Regions from separate parts of the Homo sapiens genome. Here region 1 is linked to region 2. Evidence: promoter capture Hi-C in human tissues and cell types (Jung and others, 2019). All regions are on one chromosome and are shown on one strand. The core of a region is centred on a gene start or on the middle of the fragment in contact, and the rest is flanking DNA. Distances in the headings are between cores, read along the strand shown.

Region 1 (6,992 bases), core at 4,068-6,567, 470 kb after region 2:
CAAGAGTTGGGACTTCATGTGTGCCTGAGCTACCGCTCTGCTCAGACTCCGCATGGGTCTCTGTCAGTCTGCAGGCCCTGGTGAGGTGGGCTCACAGGGGGATCACCTTGAGTCCAGGGTTGCAAGGCCCACGGCAGAAGTGTTGGTCACAAGGAATTCTCGCACTCTCGCCATTTCACCAGGTAAGGAAGCCTCCCCTGGCTCCATGCCACCCTTGAGGGAACCAATCCACTTGTTCTTCTCCATTCTGAGTTGTTTCCTTGATGAATCCCAATGTGACCTCGATGTTCCAGCTGAAGATCTAGTAATTACACCCCACTCTTTTTTTCACTTCATGAGAACAGCACACACTAGCTGCTTCTAGTCTGCTGGATTTATTTGTAATTGATTCACTATTACATATTAAATGTACATATTCTAAGTATAGAGTTGGATAAATTTTAGCAAATGTGTAACCAACTTTGCAATCAAGATATATTAGAACATTGCCCTTGCCACCCTGGAAAGTTTCCTGTCACTATTTTCTTCCTTTCTAAAAAAATTTTTGTCTTAGGTTGAGGGGTGCACTTGCAGGTTTGTTATATAGGTAAACTGCATGCCACAGGAGTTTGGTGTACCGATTACTTCACCACTCAGGTAATAAGCATTGTACAGGATAGGAAGTTTTTCAGTCCTCACCCACGGCCCTCCCACCATCAAGTAGGTCCTGTGTCTGTTGCACTCTTTTTTGTGTGTCCGTATGTATTCAATGTTTAGCTCTCACTTATAAGTAAGAACATGCGGTAGTTGGTTTTCTGTTCCTGTGTTAGTTCACATAAGATAATGGCCTCCAGTTCCATCCATGTTGCTGCAAAGGACATGACCTCATCCTTTTTTTATAGCTGTGCAGTATTCCATGGTGTACATGTGCCACATTCTCTGTATCCATTTGTCTGCTGGTGAAAGATTGCTTCCAAGTCTTAGCTATTATGAATAGTGTTGCAATAAGCATGGAGTGCAGGTATCATTTCAATAAACTAATTTTCTTACCTTTGGATATATATACCCAACAGTGGGATTGCTGCATCATATGGTAGTTCTATTTTTAGTTTTTTGAGAAACTTCCAAACTGTTCTTCATACACTTACATTCCCAGAAAACAGTGTACGAGGGCTCTCTTTTCTCCACATCCTGACCAGCATGTTATTGCCTGACATGTGGATAAAAGCCATTTTAACAGGGTGAGATGATATCTTATTGTAGTTTTGATTTGCATTTCTCTGATGATAAATGATGTTGGGCAACTTTTCATATACCTGTTTGCCATTTTTATGTCTCCTTTTGAGAGATGTCTATTTGGATTGTTTGCCCGTTTTTGATTGAATTTTTAGATTTTTTTCTACTTTTTAATATTCATATATTTTCTAGTTATTAATTCCTTGTCAGATAGATAGTGACAAAGATTTCATGATTAGAATACCAAAAGCATTTGCAACAAAAGCAAAAATTAACAAATGGGATCTAATTAAACTAAAGACCTTCTGCACAACAAAAGAAACTGTCATTAGACTGAACAGACAACCTACAAAATGGGAGAAAATTTTTCCAGTCTATCCATCTGACAAAAGTCTACTGTTCAGTATTTACAAGGAACTTAAACAAATTTACAAGAAACACACAGCCGCATCAAAAATTGGGCAAAGGACATGAACAGCCACTTCTCAAAAAAGACATTCATGCAGCCAACAAACATGAAAAAAGTTCAACATCATTGATCATTAGAGAAATGCAAATCAAAATCACAATGAGATACCATCTCACACCAGTGAGAATAGCAGTTATTAAAAAGTCAAGAAACAACAGATGCTGGTGAGGTTGTGGAGAAAAAGGAACACTTCTACACTGTTGATGAGAATGTAAATTGGTACAAGCATTGTGGAAGACAGTGTGACAATTCCTCAAAGATCTAGAAGCAGAAATACCACTTGACCCGGCAATTCCATTACTGGGTATAAACCCAAAGGAATAGAAATCATTCTATTATAAAGATACATACACACATATGTTCATTAAAGCACTGTTTGCAATAGCAAAGGCATGGAATCAACCCAAATGTCCATCAGCAGTAGACTGGATAAAGAAAATGTGGTACATATACACTATGGAATACTATGCAGCCATAAAAAGGAATGAGATCATGTCCTTTGCAGGGACATGGATATAGCTGGAAGCTGTTATCTTCAGCAAACTAATGTAGGAACAGAAAACCAAACACCACCTGTTCTCACTCATCAGTGGGAGTTGAATGATGAGAACACATGAACACATTGTGGGGAAAAACACACACTGGGGCCTGTTGGGCATGCTGGGGAGGGAGAGCATCAGGAAGAACAGCTAATGGGTGCTGGGCTTAATAACTGGATGATGGGTTGATCTGTGCAGCAAACCACCATGGTACACGTCTACCTATGTAACAAACCTGCACATTCTGCACATGTACCCCAGAACTTAAAATAAAAGTTAGTAAAATAATTAGAAAAAAAAGCTTTCTCCCATTCTGTGGGTTGTCTCTTCATTTTTTAAAATTGTTTCTTTTGCTGTGAAGAAGCTATTTAACTTCATGTGATCCCATTTTTGCTTTGGTATCCTGTGCTTTTGAGGTATTACTAAAGAAATATTTGCCCAGACCAATGACCTAAAAAGTTTCATTAGTTTTCTTTTAGTAGTTTCATGGCTTCAGGTCTTAGATTTAAGTCTCCAATCCATTTTAGTTTGACATTTTTATATGGTGAGAGATTGGGGTCTAGTTTCCATCTTCTGCATATGGATATCCGGTTTTCACAGCACCTTTTTGAAGAGATTGTCCTTTCTCCAATGTCTGTTCTTGGCACCTATGTCAAAAATGAGTTCACTATAGAAGTATGGTTTACTTCTACATTCTCTATTCTGTTCCATTTGTCTAAGTGTCTGTTTAAATGCCATTTCATGCTGTTTGGGTTACTATATCTCTGTAGTATAATTTGAAGTCACATAATGTGTCTCATCTTGTTTTGTCCTGTTTGTTCAGGTTGGTTTTAGTTATCCTGTTTTGTTTTGTTTTGTTTTGTTTACAGTTCCACATAAATTTTAGGATAATTTGTTTCTATTTCTCTGAAGAATGTATTGATATTTTGATAGGAATTGCTTGAATCTGTAGAGTGTTTTAGGTAGTATGGACATTTTAATACTATTAATTTTTCCAATCCATGAATATAAAATATCTTTTAATTTTTGTGTTCTCTTCAATTTCTTAAATAAATGTTTTATAATTTTCATTGTGGAGATTTTTCACTACTTTGGCTATGTTTATTCCTAGGTATTCCATTTGTCACTATTGTAAATGGGATTACATTTTTTTATTTCTTTTTAAGATTGTTTGCTGTTGGCATATAGATATGCCACTGATTTTGTATGTTAATTTTGTACCCTGCAATATTAATGAGCTTGTTTATCAGTTCTAATAGCTTTTAGGTGGAGTCTTAAGATTTTTCCAAATATAAAATTATACAATCTGTAAAGAAGGATATTTTAACTTCTTTCTTTCCAATTTTGATGTCATTTATTTCTTTCTCTTGTCCGATTGGTATAGGTAGGACTTCCAGTCCTATGTTGAAAAATAGTGGTGAAAGTGACCATTTCCATATTGTTGCAGATATTAGAGGATAGGCTTTCAGTTTTTCTCTGTTCAATATGATACAATCTGTGGGTCTGTCACATATGGCTTTCATTATGTTGAGGTATGTTCCTTCTATACCCAGTTTTTTTAGGGTTGTTTTTAGAAGGGGTGTTGAATTTTACCAAATGTTTTTTCAGCATCAGTTGAAATGATCATATGGTTTTTGTCCTTTATTCTCTTGATATGATGTATCACACTGATTGATTTGCATATGTGGACTCATTCTTGCATCACTGGAATAAATTCCACTTGGTCATAATGAATAATCTTTTTAATGTGTTGGTGAATTCAGTTTGCTAGTATTTTTGAGGATTTTTGCATCAATGTTTATCAGAGATGTTGGCCTGTAGTTTTGTTTTCTTTATGTGTTTTTGGTTTTGGCATCAGAGCAATACTGGCCTCATAGAATGAGTTTAGAATTGTTCCCTTTTTCTGTATTTTTTAGAATAGTTTAAGTAGGATCAGTGTTATTTTTCCTTTAAATGTTTGACAAAATTCAGCAGTGAATTCTTTGATTCTTGAGCTTTTCTTTAATGGAAAACTTTTTATTATGGTTTTATCTCATTATTTGTTGTTGATCTGTTCAAGTTTTGGATTTTCTCATGGTTCAATCTTGGTAGATTTTATGTCTCTAGGAATTTATCAGTTTCTTCTAAGTTTTTCCAATTTATAGACCTGTAGTTGCTCATAGTAGTTGCTAATGATTCTTTATATTTCTGCAGTGTCAGTTGTAATGTCACCTCTTTCATCTCTGATTTTATTTACTTGTGTCTTCTCTCTTTTTTAGTTAGTTTGATTAAGAATGTAGCTTTCCAATGAGAACACATGGACACAGGGAGGGGAACATCACACACTGGGGCCTGCAGCGGGTGGGAGGCTAGGGGAGGGATAACATTCGGAGAAATACCTAATGTAGGTGATGGGTTGATGGGTGCAGCAAACCACCATGGCATGTGTATACCTATGTAACAAAACTGAGCATTCTGCACATGTAACCCAGAACTTAAAGTATAATAATAAAAAAAGAATTTGTTAGCTTGCTTTCTTTCTTTCTTCAAAAAACTCAACTTTGTTTCATTAAGCTTTCATATTGTTTTCTTGGTTCAATTTCATTTATTTCTGCTTGGATCTTTATTGTTTATTTTCCTTTACTAACTTTGGGTTTGGTTTCCTCTTCCTTTTCTAATTATTTAAGATGCATTGCTAGTTTTGCTATTTTTTTGTAAAGATGCTTATTGCTACACACTCTCCTGTTAGTACTGCTTTTGCTGTATTCCATAAATTTTGATATTGTGCTTCTGTTTATATTTGTTTCAAGAAATTTTTAATTTCCTTCTTAATTTCTTCATTGACACACTCGCATTCAGGAGCATATTGTTTAATTTCAATGTGTTTATATAGTTTCTAAAATTCCTCTTGGAATTGATTTCTAGCATTATTCCATTGTGGTCAGTGAAGAAACTTGATAAACGTACATTTTCTGAACTTTTTAAGATTTGTTTTGTGGCCTACCTAACATATGATCCATACTTGAGAATATTTCATGTATTGAAGAGAAGAATTTTTATTCTGCTGCCGTGGGATGAAACGTTCTGTGAATATCTGTTAGCTCCATTGGATCTCTAGTGCAGATTAAGTTGAGTGTTGCGTTGGTGATTTTCTGTCTGGATGATCTATCCAACGCTTAAAGTGAGGTATTGAAGTCTCTCCCCATTATTTTATATAGATCCATGTTTCTGTTAGCTCTAATACTTGCTTTATATATCTGGGTGACCCAGTGTTGGGTGTTTATATATTTACAATTATATCATCTTGCTGAATTGACCCCTTTATCATTATATGAGGACCTTCTTTGTCTCCTTTTACAGTTTTTGTCTTGAAATCTATTTTGTCTGAAATAAGTATAGCTACTCCTGCTATTGTTTGGTTTCCATTCACATGGAATGTCTTTTTCCATGTCTTCATTTTCAGTCTATGTGTGTTTTTATAGGTGAAGTGTGTTTCTTGTAGGCAGCAGAAAATCCCTTCAGTTACCCTATGTCTTTTAATTGGAGAGTGTAGTCCATTTACAATCAATGTTATTATTGATAAGTAAGGACTAGTACTGCCATTTAAATATATTTTTTCTTGTTGTTTTGTGGTCTTTCCTCCTTCATTTTTTCCTATCTTTTGTGAAGATTATTTTACGCAATGGTATGTTTTATGTTCTTGGTTTTTATTTTTATTTTTTGTGGATCTATTGTAGCTTTTTTGATTTGAGGTTACCATGAGACTTGCAAATATTATCTTGTAACTCATTATTTTAAACTGATGAAAACTTAACAGATTCCAAAAATTAAAGAAAACAAACAAGCAAAGAGAAAACTAATAAAACTCTGCCCTTTAATTTTATCCCCCAACGTTTTAAAATTTTTGTTGTTTGCATTTATGTCTTATTATACTATGTCTTAAAAAGTTGTTGTAGTTATTATTCATCTTTTAGTCTTCCTACTCAAGATATGAGCACACAGAAATTACAGTGTCATAGCATTCTGTATTTTTCTGTATATTTACTATTACCAGTGAGTTTTGTACATCCAAATAATTTCTTATAGCTCATTAACACATTTTTCTTTCAGATTGAAGAACTCTCTTTAGCATTTTTTTGTTGGACGGGTCTAGTGTTGGCAAAATTTCTCACCTTTCGTTAGTCTAGAAAAGTCTTTATTGACCTTCATGTTTGGAGTATATATTTGCCGGATATAATATGCTATGATAAAAGTTTTCTTTTTCTTTGTAACTTCAAATATGCCATGCCACTCTATACTGGCCTGTAAGTTTTCCACTGAGAAGTCTGCTGTCAATGTATTGGAACTGTTTCACATGCTTTTTTTTTTCTCTTGCTGCTTTTTGGAATTTATTATTGACTTTGGGAGTTTGATTATTAAATATCTTGAGGTAGTCTTACTTGGGTTAAATCTTTGGAGTTCTATAAATCTTCTTGTATTTGAATATTGATTATTTCTCTAGGTTTGGAAAGTTCTCTGATATTATATCTTTAGATAATCTCTCTCTCTCTCTCTCTGTCCGCTTTCAGGCAATAATTCTTAGGTTTGCCTTTTTGAGGATATTTCCTAGATCTTGTAGATGTGCTTTATTCATTATTATTATTTTTCTTTTGTCATTTTTGACTGTGTATTTTCAAATAGTCTGTCTTCAAGCTCACTAATTCTTTCTTCTGCTTGATTAATTCTGCTGTTGAGAGACTGTAATACATTTTTCAGTGTGTTATTTGAATTCTTTAGCTCCAGAATTCCTG
Region 2 (7,225 bases), core at 3,740-6,239:
CTGTTTTCTACGAAGTAAAATTTACTTTGTAAATCCATTACTTTGTAGAAAGTAGTTTTATAGACTATATTTTCTACAAGTAAGAAAGGAGTTTAGGAAAATGGATATTTTATACTTAGCTTTTTTCCCCATTCATTCACCCACTCAACACAGATTTACTGAGCAGCTACTATGTACCATATCCTGGGCTGGTTAAAAACATACCATCCCTGTGATGGTGATGACCATTGACTTCACTCTTCACAAGAATTTATGTCAACGTGTCCTAGACATTTGGTAGTAGAGGTATAGCTGTAGTCCAAACCTCTACCAAGCTATGGTTTCTGAGAGCCCTGTATGTTAAGTGCCTACGGAATGCTCAGCATAGTCAAAGACACCTTAGATTCACATTATACGAGGAGCCACACTGCAGTTATTCAAGATTAAGCACTGGCTGGAGAAACTGGCTGTATGAACTCCAGCCTTGGGTGTGCTGTACTCATCTGGGTGGCCTGGGGAAAGACATTAATCTTTCTGATCTTTTGCACCTGTAAAATTAACTTTTAGTTACAATTAGCTCCAAGGTCTTTTCCAGCATTTATCTTTTATGATTCTCTAAAGTTTTTTTAATTTCCAAGAAGTTATAATAAGTACTGGATAAGTAAAATGGCTTTGAAACCTCATCTCAGATATTCTGTTGGAGGCAAGTAGCAATTTTAAATTACTTTCTTCTAGGTATGTGAATTAAAGTTTAGAAAAATGTGAAGCTTTTACATTTGATAGGGTGAAAATTTATATCCTATTTAAGAGAAGTATGAGGAAATTTTTGGTAATGAGAGAAGCCACAAGTATGAGTGGTTCTTTAGAAACTTGTTCTATGAGAATTAAAAAGAGATTTTTTCCAGGGAAAGAACAAAGGAAATGTCACAGAGGGACTATGACTGCATCTGCACATCCTGAAAGGTTTGCTGAAGGAGAGAAGGGTCAGTTTTTGTTGTCCAGGAGGGACGATGGAAGTGAGCCCCAAATAAATAGAGGACACCGAAGGTGAATTGTCAGGTGTGTGTTCATATTTTACATAGTCAGCTAAAGTTGTTGCTTTTGCTCTTATCCTACATTGAGAAGTTAGAATTCATTATTTTTATTTTTATTGATTACTCTGTGATCAGTTTTGGTGAACACTTTTTGTTTTATTCACTTCAGTTTGATCTGATGCAATTTCAATGGCTTCATGAATTTGAGTACACACGACTTCAGGCTTGTAGACATTCTAACCTTGTGTGACTCCCTTTAACCCCATTCCTGCAAATCTGCTTGAGGAAAAACTATGAAGAACCTTCTCCCTCAAACAACAAATGGAGTTACTAAAGTGATAGAGGGATCTCTCATTAGCAGCTTTTCTCTGTTTGTGTTGAAATGTGGTTAATGCTCATACTTCTCACTCCTTATCTCTCTAGAAAGGGGAAGTTTAATAGAGCTATAATTTAGTAGTGTGGGGTGTAACCTGCTGTTAATATCTGCCAGGTCACTGGAAGATCTTCTTCATTATATTCTTAGCATTTTGTGACAACTTTTGAACAGGTTCTTTAAATAAATGTGTATTCCCAGATGCTTTAGGGATTGAGATATCCTTTTCACACAATGCTAAAAAGAAAGATTCTCTAAATTCCAAAGGGCATTCATTCTCCCCTTAATTCTCCTCTCCTCTCCTTTTGGTTTTCTTTTCACTCAATAGTTAGACCAGTGCACCTTTCACAAGAATACACTCAAGTTTCAAGATCTGTACCTTCTTTAACTTATGTACATGTATGTTTATAGGGGTCTGGTTGAAGAGAAGGAGGTCAAGGCAGAAACACCTAGCTCCCAGAGGGTTACTTGGAGGACCAGAGGTTTTAGGAAATACGGTGTGTCTCAATCTGTCTGCAAGTTTCCATACCAAAGTGAGTAACCATGGATAAGGAGTAAATTGCTGTTTCTAACTTTTAACTTACAAATAAGCACTCAACATTACACTTTTCAGGAGACTTAGGGTTGGTTTTGTTGACGTGACCCATCTGTTAGTTAAAAACATGTTTTAAGGAGTTTTTTATTTTAACTCATAGTATAGCTTTTAGAATTATGACTAGCAAATTACTGTGGGTTTTTAAATATGGGGCAAACCTGAAATCATTTTCATCATTAGAACCAAGCTGTTCTTTTCTGCTAAAGAAGGAGGGCTAAGAAGAAGGGCATAGTAGAGATGGATCTTATACTCTCATTGATTAAAAAACAACAAACAAATAAAAAGACAAGAGCAGACATGGATTTTTGCTCTTCCCCATCCCCTCATGTTCACATAAATGAGGGTTGGGAGAAGTTGCGTTTCGTAACAGAGCTCCTAATCTTGCTTTTCTCCTAGGGCACTTCTGTGATTCCTCCAGCTTCTCTTTCAAGTCCCTTTTCACCCCAATCCTCTTCTCCTTGATTTTTATTTCATAAATAGGAATAAAGTGGCATATGTTTTCTGATCATGAAAAGGATATCATTTTATAATTTTGACAGTAGTAGAACATCTAAAATGCACATTTCTGTAGGATCAGCAAGCCCTCAAAATCAGTAGAGCTCCCTTCTTGTGTCTCTAGTGAAAGCGGCAGCTTCTCATCTTATCTTTTCTGAGAAACATTAAGAAGTCCTCCCAAGTCTGCCTCAATGGCATTGGTTGGGTATAGTCATGGACTTGATCAAGAGGCAGCTATATAATGGCAAAAAGAGGAGACTCACGTGAAGTATCCACATCCCATGCAGAAGGGGAGATTTGGGGGCGACTACATGAAACTTCGACACTGATTTTTCTAAAAGCTTAAGAAGAGCAGTGTCATCTTGCTTGGTATGTACCCTATGGAGAAAGGATAGCTTTGCTCCTGGGAAACTTAGATCATGAGCAATCTAAGATGATCTCACTCAGTTATTTAGGGGCTTGAACTTGATGGGACATAGGGAAGGCAGTTACTGTTTAACGGTCCATAGCTGGTCCGGTGGATTAATTGCCAGAGAAAGCAGAAGTAAACCCTTGGAGAATACTTTTATCCCCAAACTTAGGAATAACTGGAAGCTCATTTAAACTGGGAGCATTTCCCCCTCCACCCCAAGAAAAGATAACTTCCCTCAAGGGGATCTGGTGAATGAAGCAGCGTATTTTCATCCTTGTGATAATGGGTGTGAGTCAGGCACTACCATAAAAGAAGAATTAACTTGAATGTGCCACATACTTGGTCTGGCCTTGTCCCATACCTGTACTCTTGTCATGGTTGATTACCTATGTGCATCAGATATAAAGCAAGCAGTCTGCATTGTGGCATGAGATAAAAGGTATGTTAATATGCTCAGGTCACATACTATCTTGGCCAATAGTAATTTTATATAATTTGCTTAAAGGAAACTGCACTTCTTGCAATATTTTTTTCCAATGAAGAAAAATTTAACGTGACAGAAGCTTTATATATAACTCTTGCATTTGAGTAACAGCATTGAATCCTCTCCATCTCAAGCAGAACTTTTAAATATTTTTATTACTTTTGATATGCAAAAGCTAAGGAGAAATGGTTTGGAAGACCTAAGTTAAATTTCTAATGAGTCTTGTTTCTTTAATAGGGGAGAATTTCATACAGCTTCGGTGAGTTTTTTCTTTCCACATGAGATAATATAAACAAACAAAAAAATAAAAAAGTGAAACATTTCTCTTCTTACTTTAAGAACCTTAAGGGCTAAAAGAGTGGTTTGGTTTCCTGACTGGTACTTTTGGTTTGCCTTCTCTAAGTGGTCTTGAGCAATTCCCCAGAGGAAACATTTGAAGAGGGTTTTTCTCCCACTTGAGAGAGTTTCATCCCACACAACCCACAGAATTTGATGGCAAACTTCATGGACCAAGTGTCTGGTTTTACAGAAGTGGCTGTGGAGTATGTTTTTCCTTTCACAGGTGCACATTTATTCTACCTTAGGAATAAGAAGAGATCATTTTCTTTTAAAGAGGGTAGCTTAAACACTGAATATCTCTGATAATTGGATGCCAGTCAGGTAGGTTGTGATTTACTAAATGCGGGGGAAAAAAGGTGGAAAGAAGGATTAAAACTTCCAAAGCCTTTCTCGCTGATCTTTCTTTACAACCATCTGGTGTGCACAGAAGTATTGTATAATCTGGCCTGTATTATTCTCTTACTGTGAAACATATTGAAACACTTTATGTTTAGGTGTGTGTACAGAAATTCATGAAGTTCTTTTATACACTTTCTTAGTTCCATCGTAATTCTCATTTTAGGATGTCGTGAAAAGATAGCCTGGTGAGAGAGCACATTCTACCCTGGCTTGTGAATTTGGATTTGTTCCTTCCTATCTACCAGCCACCTGATTACTTACTGTCCCCGTGCAAAGGGCACCCGTTCACATCATTTTTTTCCAAGCGCTAAAACCTGGAAAGATATTTTTTTAAAGGACTCACAGAAGCTGTCTTGGGGGTTTGGAAAACATCACAAAATTGTTAGCAGACCTTTTGACTGTGCTATTTTTAGGAAGTTAACTGTGTTCTTTTAAAGTACATTTTTGACAATGGGACAACGTTTTCCTTGCCCCCACTGATGTGTGAAATATGTACAGTGAAAAACGTCAGTACAACACCCCAAACAGATACATTTTAACCTAAGCAACAGTCAGCAACAGGAGAAAAAGTGATTTAAAAAGAGAAAGGTTTCGCAATATTTATGCTGCTGTTTCTTCCCTGAAGGAGCTTTTATTTTACCATTCAAACAGAAGTTTGTTTTCAAACCAGTTGCTAGTTAAAGGAGCAGCGGATCGCGCATCCGTAAGAATCAGCTCTAACCAAACAGCAAACGCGTTGGCCAGAGGGTGACTTATTCCCCCATAGCAACCCCTGGTAGGTGAGCTGCCTGCAGAAGTGCTGTCTTACCTTGAGCACGTAAGATCAGGGAGAGAGGCTCGCTGGCTCCCACGGAGAGGATCGGGGAAGGGCTGTGATCCGCTGCTGGTAACATGCACTTGGCTTTTATGGGCAGGTGGGAGGAGCTGCTCCTCATAGTAGGTGGGCAGGGAAGGAGCGGCGGGCGGGCAGCCTCTGGAGGAGCTGGACACTCTTCTCTGGGGAGGGGCGGGCAGAGACTGGAGCCCGCAAGGCGGAGGAGAGACGACGGGGCGGGGGGAGGGGGAGCGCGGTCACAACGGAGGAAGGAGTGGAAAAGGGAGAGAGAGGGAGAAGGGAAAAAAGAGAGGGAACTAGAAATAGTGAAAGGGATCTTGACCACAGATGGGGAAAGGTGGGGGAGAAAATGAATAGCAGAGACAGAGAGAGAGAGAGTGTCTGGGAGGAAAGGGGAATCGGAGTATTTTCCGTTTTTGCATGACATTTTTTGGCAGAGGGAGTTGTGGGTGATTGTGACTTTTGAAGGTGTTTTCTGTGAATTTGGGAATTTGAAAAGCTACATAGCGGTCCGGGAGAACTGAAGGGTTTCTAAGCGAGGCAAGGGAGGTGAAGCTGGGCGTCCGGGCAGCAGAGCCAAAGTTCAGGGTGGACCCGGACCTGGAGCTGGAGGCACTGACATGGCCTGGAGCCAGGCAGCCCCCAGCCCTCAGCCCCGTCCCACCGCCCGCGGGTGAAAATCGCCCCATCCCTCTCCCTCCAGGCAAGGCTTATTTGACAAGGAAGTTCCTGCGCTGCCTGTCCTCTGAGCATCCAGAGGCCCCTTTTGAGACTTCGGCAGCATTAAAGTAAATCCAGCAACGGGGAGGATTCGCGTGGACTTGCTTGTGGAGACAGGAACCTCAGAACCAGCCTGGGTCTTCCAGCATCTGCTTATGTAACGTAGGATTTCAGAGCTCTCTGCCCTCTGGTTATTTTCGGTATTTAAAACACTCTCATTCCTAACAATCGGAAAACGTCTTGGTGCCACAGTTCTTTCTCAGTGTGTCTTAAACATTAAGAGAGGATTCAACCAACAAGTGGCTAAAGGATCAGTCTGAAATTACTAAGAAATGCATTCAGAGAAAGAAAAACAAGCTCCTTTCGCTGCTGAGTGGTGACTCACTTCCTAGCCCAAGCCTGATTTTTGCCACCAAAGGAATTAAAGCATTTTAAAAGAGAACCTGAGACTTGGGGTGGGAGATACAGTACCGGGAGGGGGAAAAGGCGGGAATGGGAGGGGGGAGGGATGGGTAGGCTGGAAATAATAAAGGAACGAACTTGTACTGAATATGTATATATGTACTTCATTCAGTGTTCACCGCAACCTTATGAGGTAGGTATGATTCATATTGTGCAGATTTATTTATTTTTTTTTTAATTTAAAGAAAGGCATCTCTAAGGGTTTAAATAACTAGCTCAAGCTAGCGAGAGGGGGAGCCACAGCTAGCGAGCTTGCAAACCTTAGGCACTCTTCAGTACACCAGGCTGCCGTATAGAACACCTAGGTTCGTCTCAGGTTAGATCCTGATGTCATTGGCTGGTAGCAGGCTCCAAGAGAAGGAAACTTGATGGTGAAGAGCAGAATTACTCAAACTTAGCACTACTGAAACTTTCGGGAGAATATTTCTCTGTTGTAGGGACCTCTCCTGTGCACTGTAGAATGTTAAGCAGTGTCCGTGGCCTCTACCCACCAGATGCCAGTAGCAGTACCCACTCCGCACTCGCCACCCAGCTGTGAAAATAAAAAATGTCTCTAGATTTAGCCAAATGTCGCTGAGGGACAAAATCCCCTCCTCTTCTTAAGAACTATTCGTCTAAAAAAGGCCCACAACTATAAAAAAGCATTTTAAAAGAATCTATTAAGAAAATACCCAGTAGTGCCATTTGGATAATAATAATACCTACGTCCATATGTGCCGAGTTTACACAGCACTTAGGTTTTTACATACGTATTTCCATCTGTTAGCTTCAAGAGCTCAAAGCCTCAATTACTTCCTTTGTAACTAAGCTTATTCTCAATTGGTTACGTCTGGGAGTCAACGAAATAAACTCCCATGTGCCCGGGATATGAGGCAAGAACAATCATATATGAAATAAAAAATTTAAAATTTTTATCGTAAACACAAATTTGACACCAGAGTTTTCAAATTTACTCACGATGTTTTGCATTATTGATTATTCGCCTTTTTATAATTTTTTATCTCTATGTTCCCTATTCAAATTATATTCAATAATTTTTTGGCTGCACAAAGTTATAACTAGTGGCTTACTAGCTAGTAAAAAATAAGTGCTCAATAA

What was found. Contacts are between HindIII fragments. The study calls those that stand out against the background at their distance.
Region 1: a fragment that was not itself captured here is called in contact with the fragment with the promoter of COL8A1 in region 2 in 1 of the 25 tissues and cell types used here (aorta).

Annotation. Positions count from the first base shown.
Region 1 is chr3:99,164,152-99,171,143 of GRCh38, reverse strand. No RefSeq gene overlaps it. Among named protein-coding and RNA genes, the nearest start is that of LINC00973, 250 kb to the right of the region's middle. The HindIII fragment of the contact is 3,333 bases long and covers 3,651-6,983 here.
Region 2 is chr3:99,636,358-99,643,582 of GRCh38, reverse strand. COL8A1 (collagen type VIII alpha 1 chain) reads right to left here and starts at 4,989. Exons shown (of 4, transcript NM_020351.4): 1 at 4,919-4,989. LOC124909401 (a long non-coding RNA gene) reads left to right here and starts at 4,903. Exons shown (of 2, transcript XR_007095981.1): 1 at 4,903-4,996; 2 at 5,649-6,215. The HindIII fragment of the contact is 6,546 bases long and covers 3,135-7,225 here.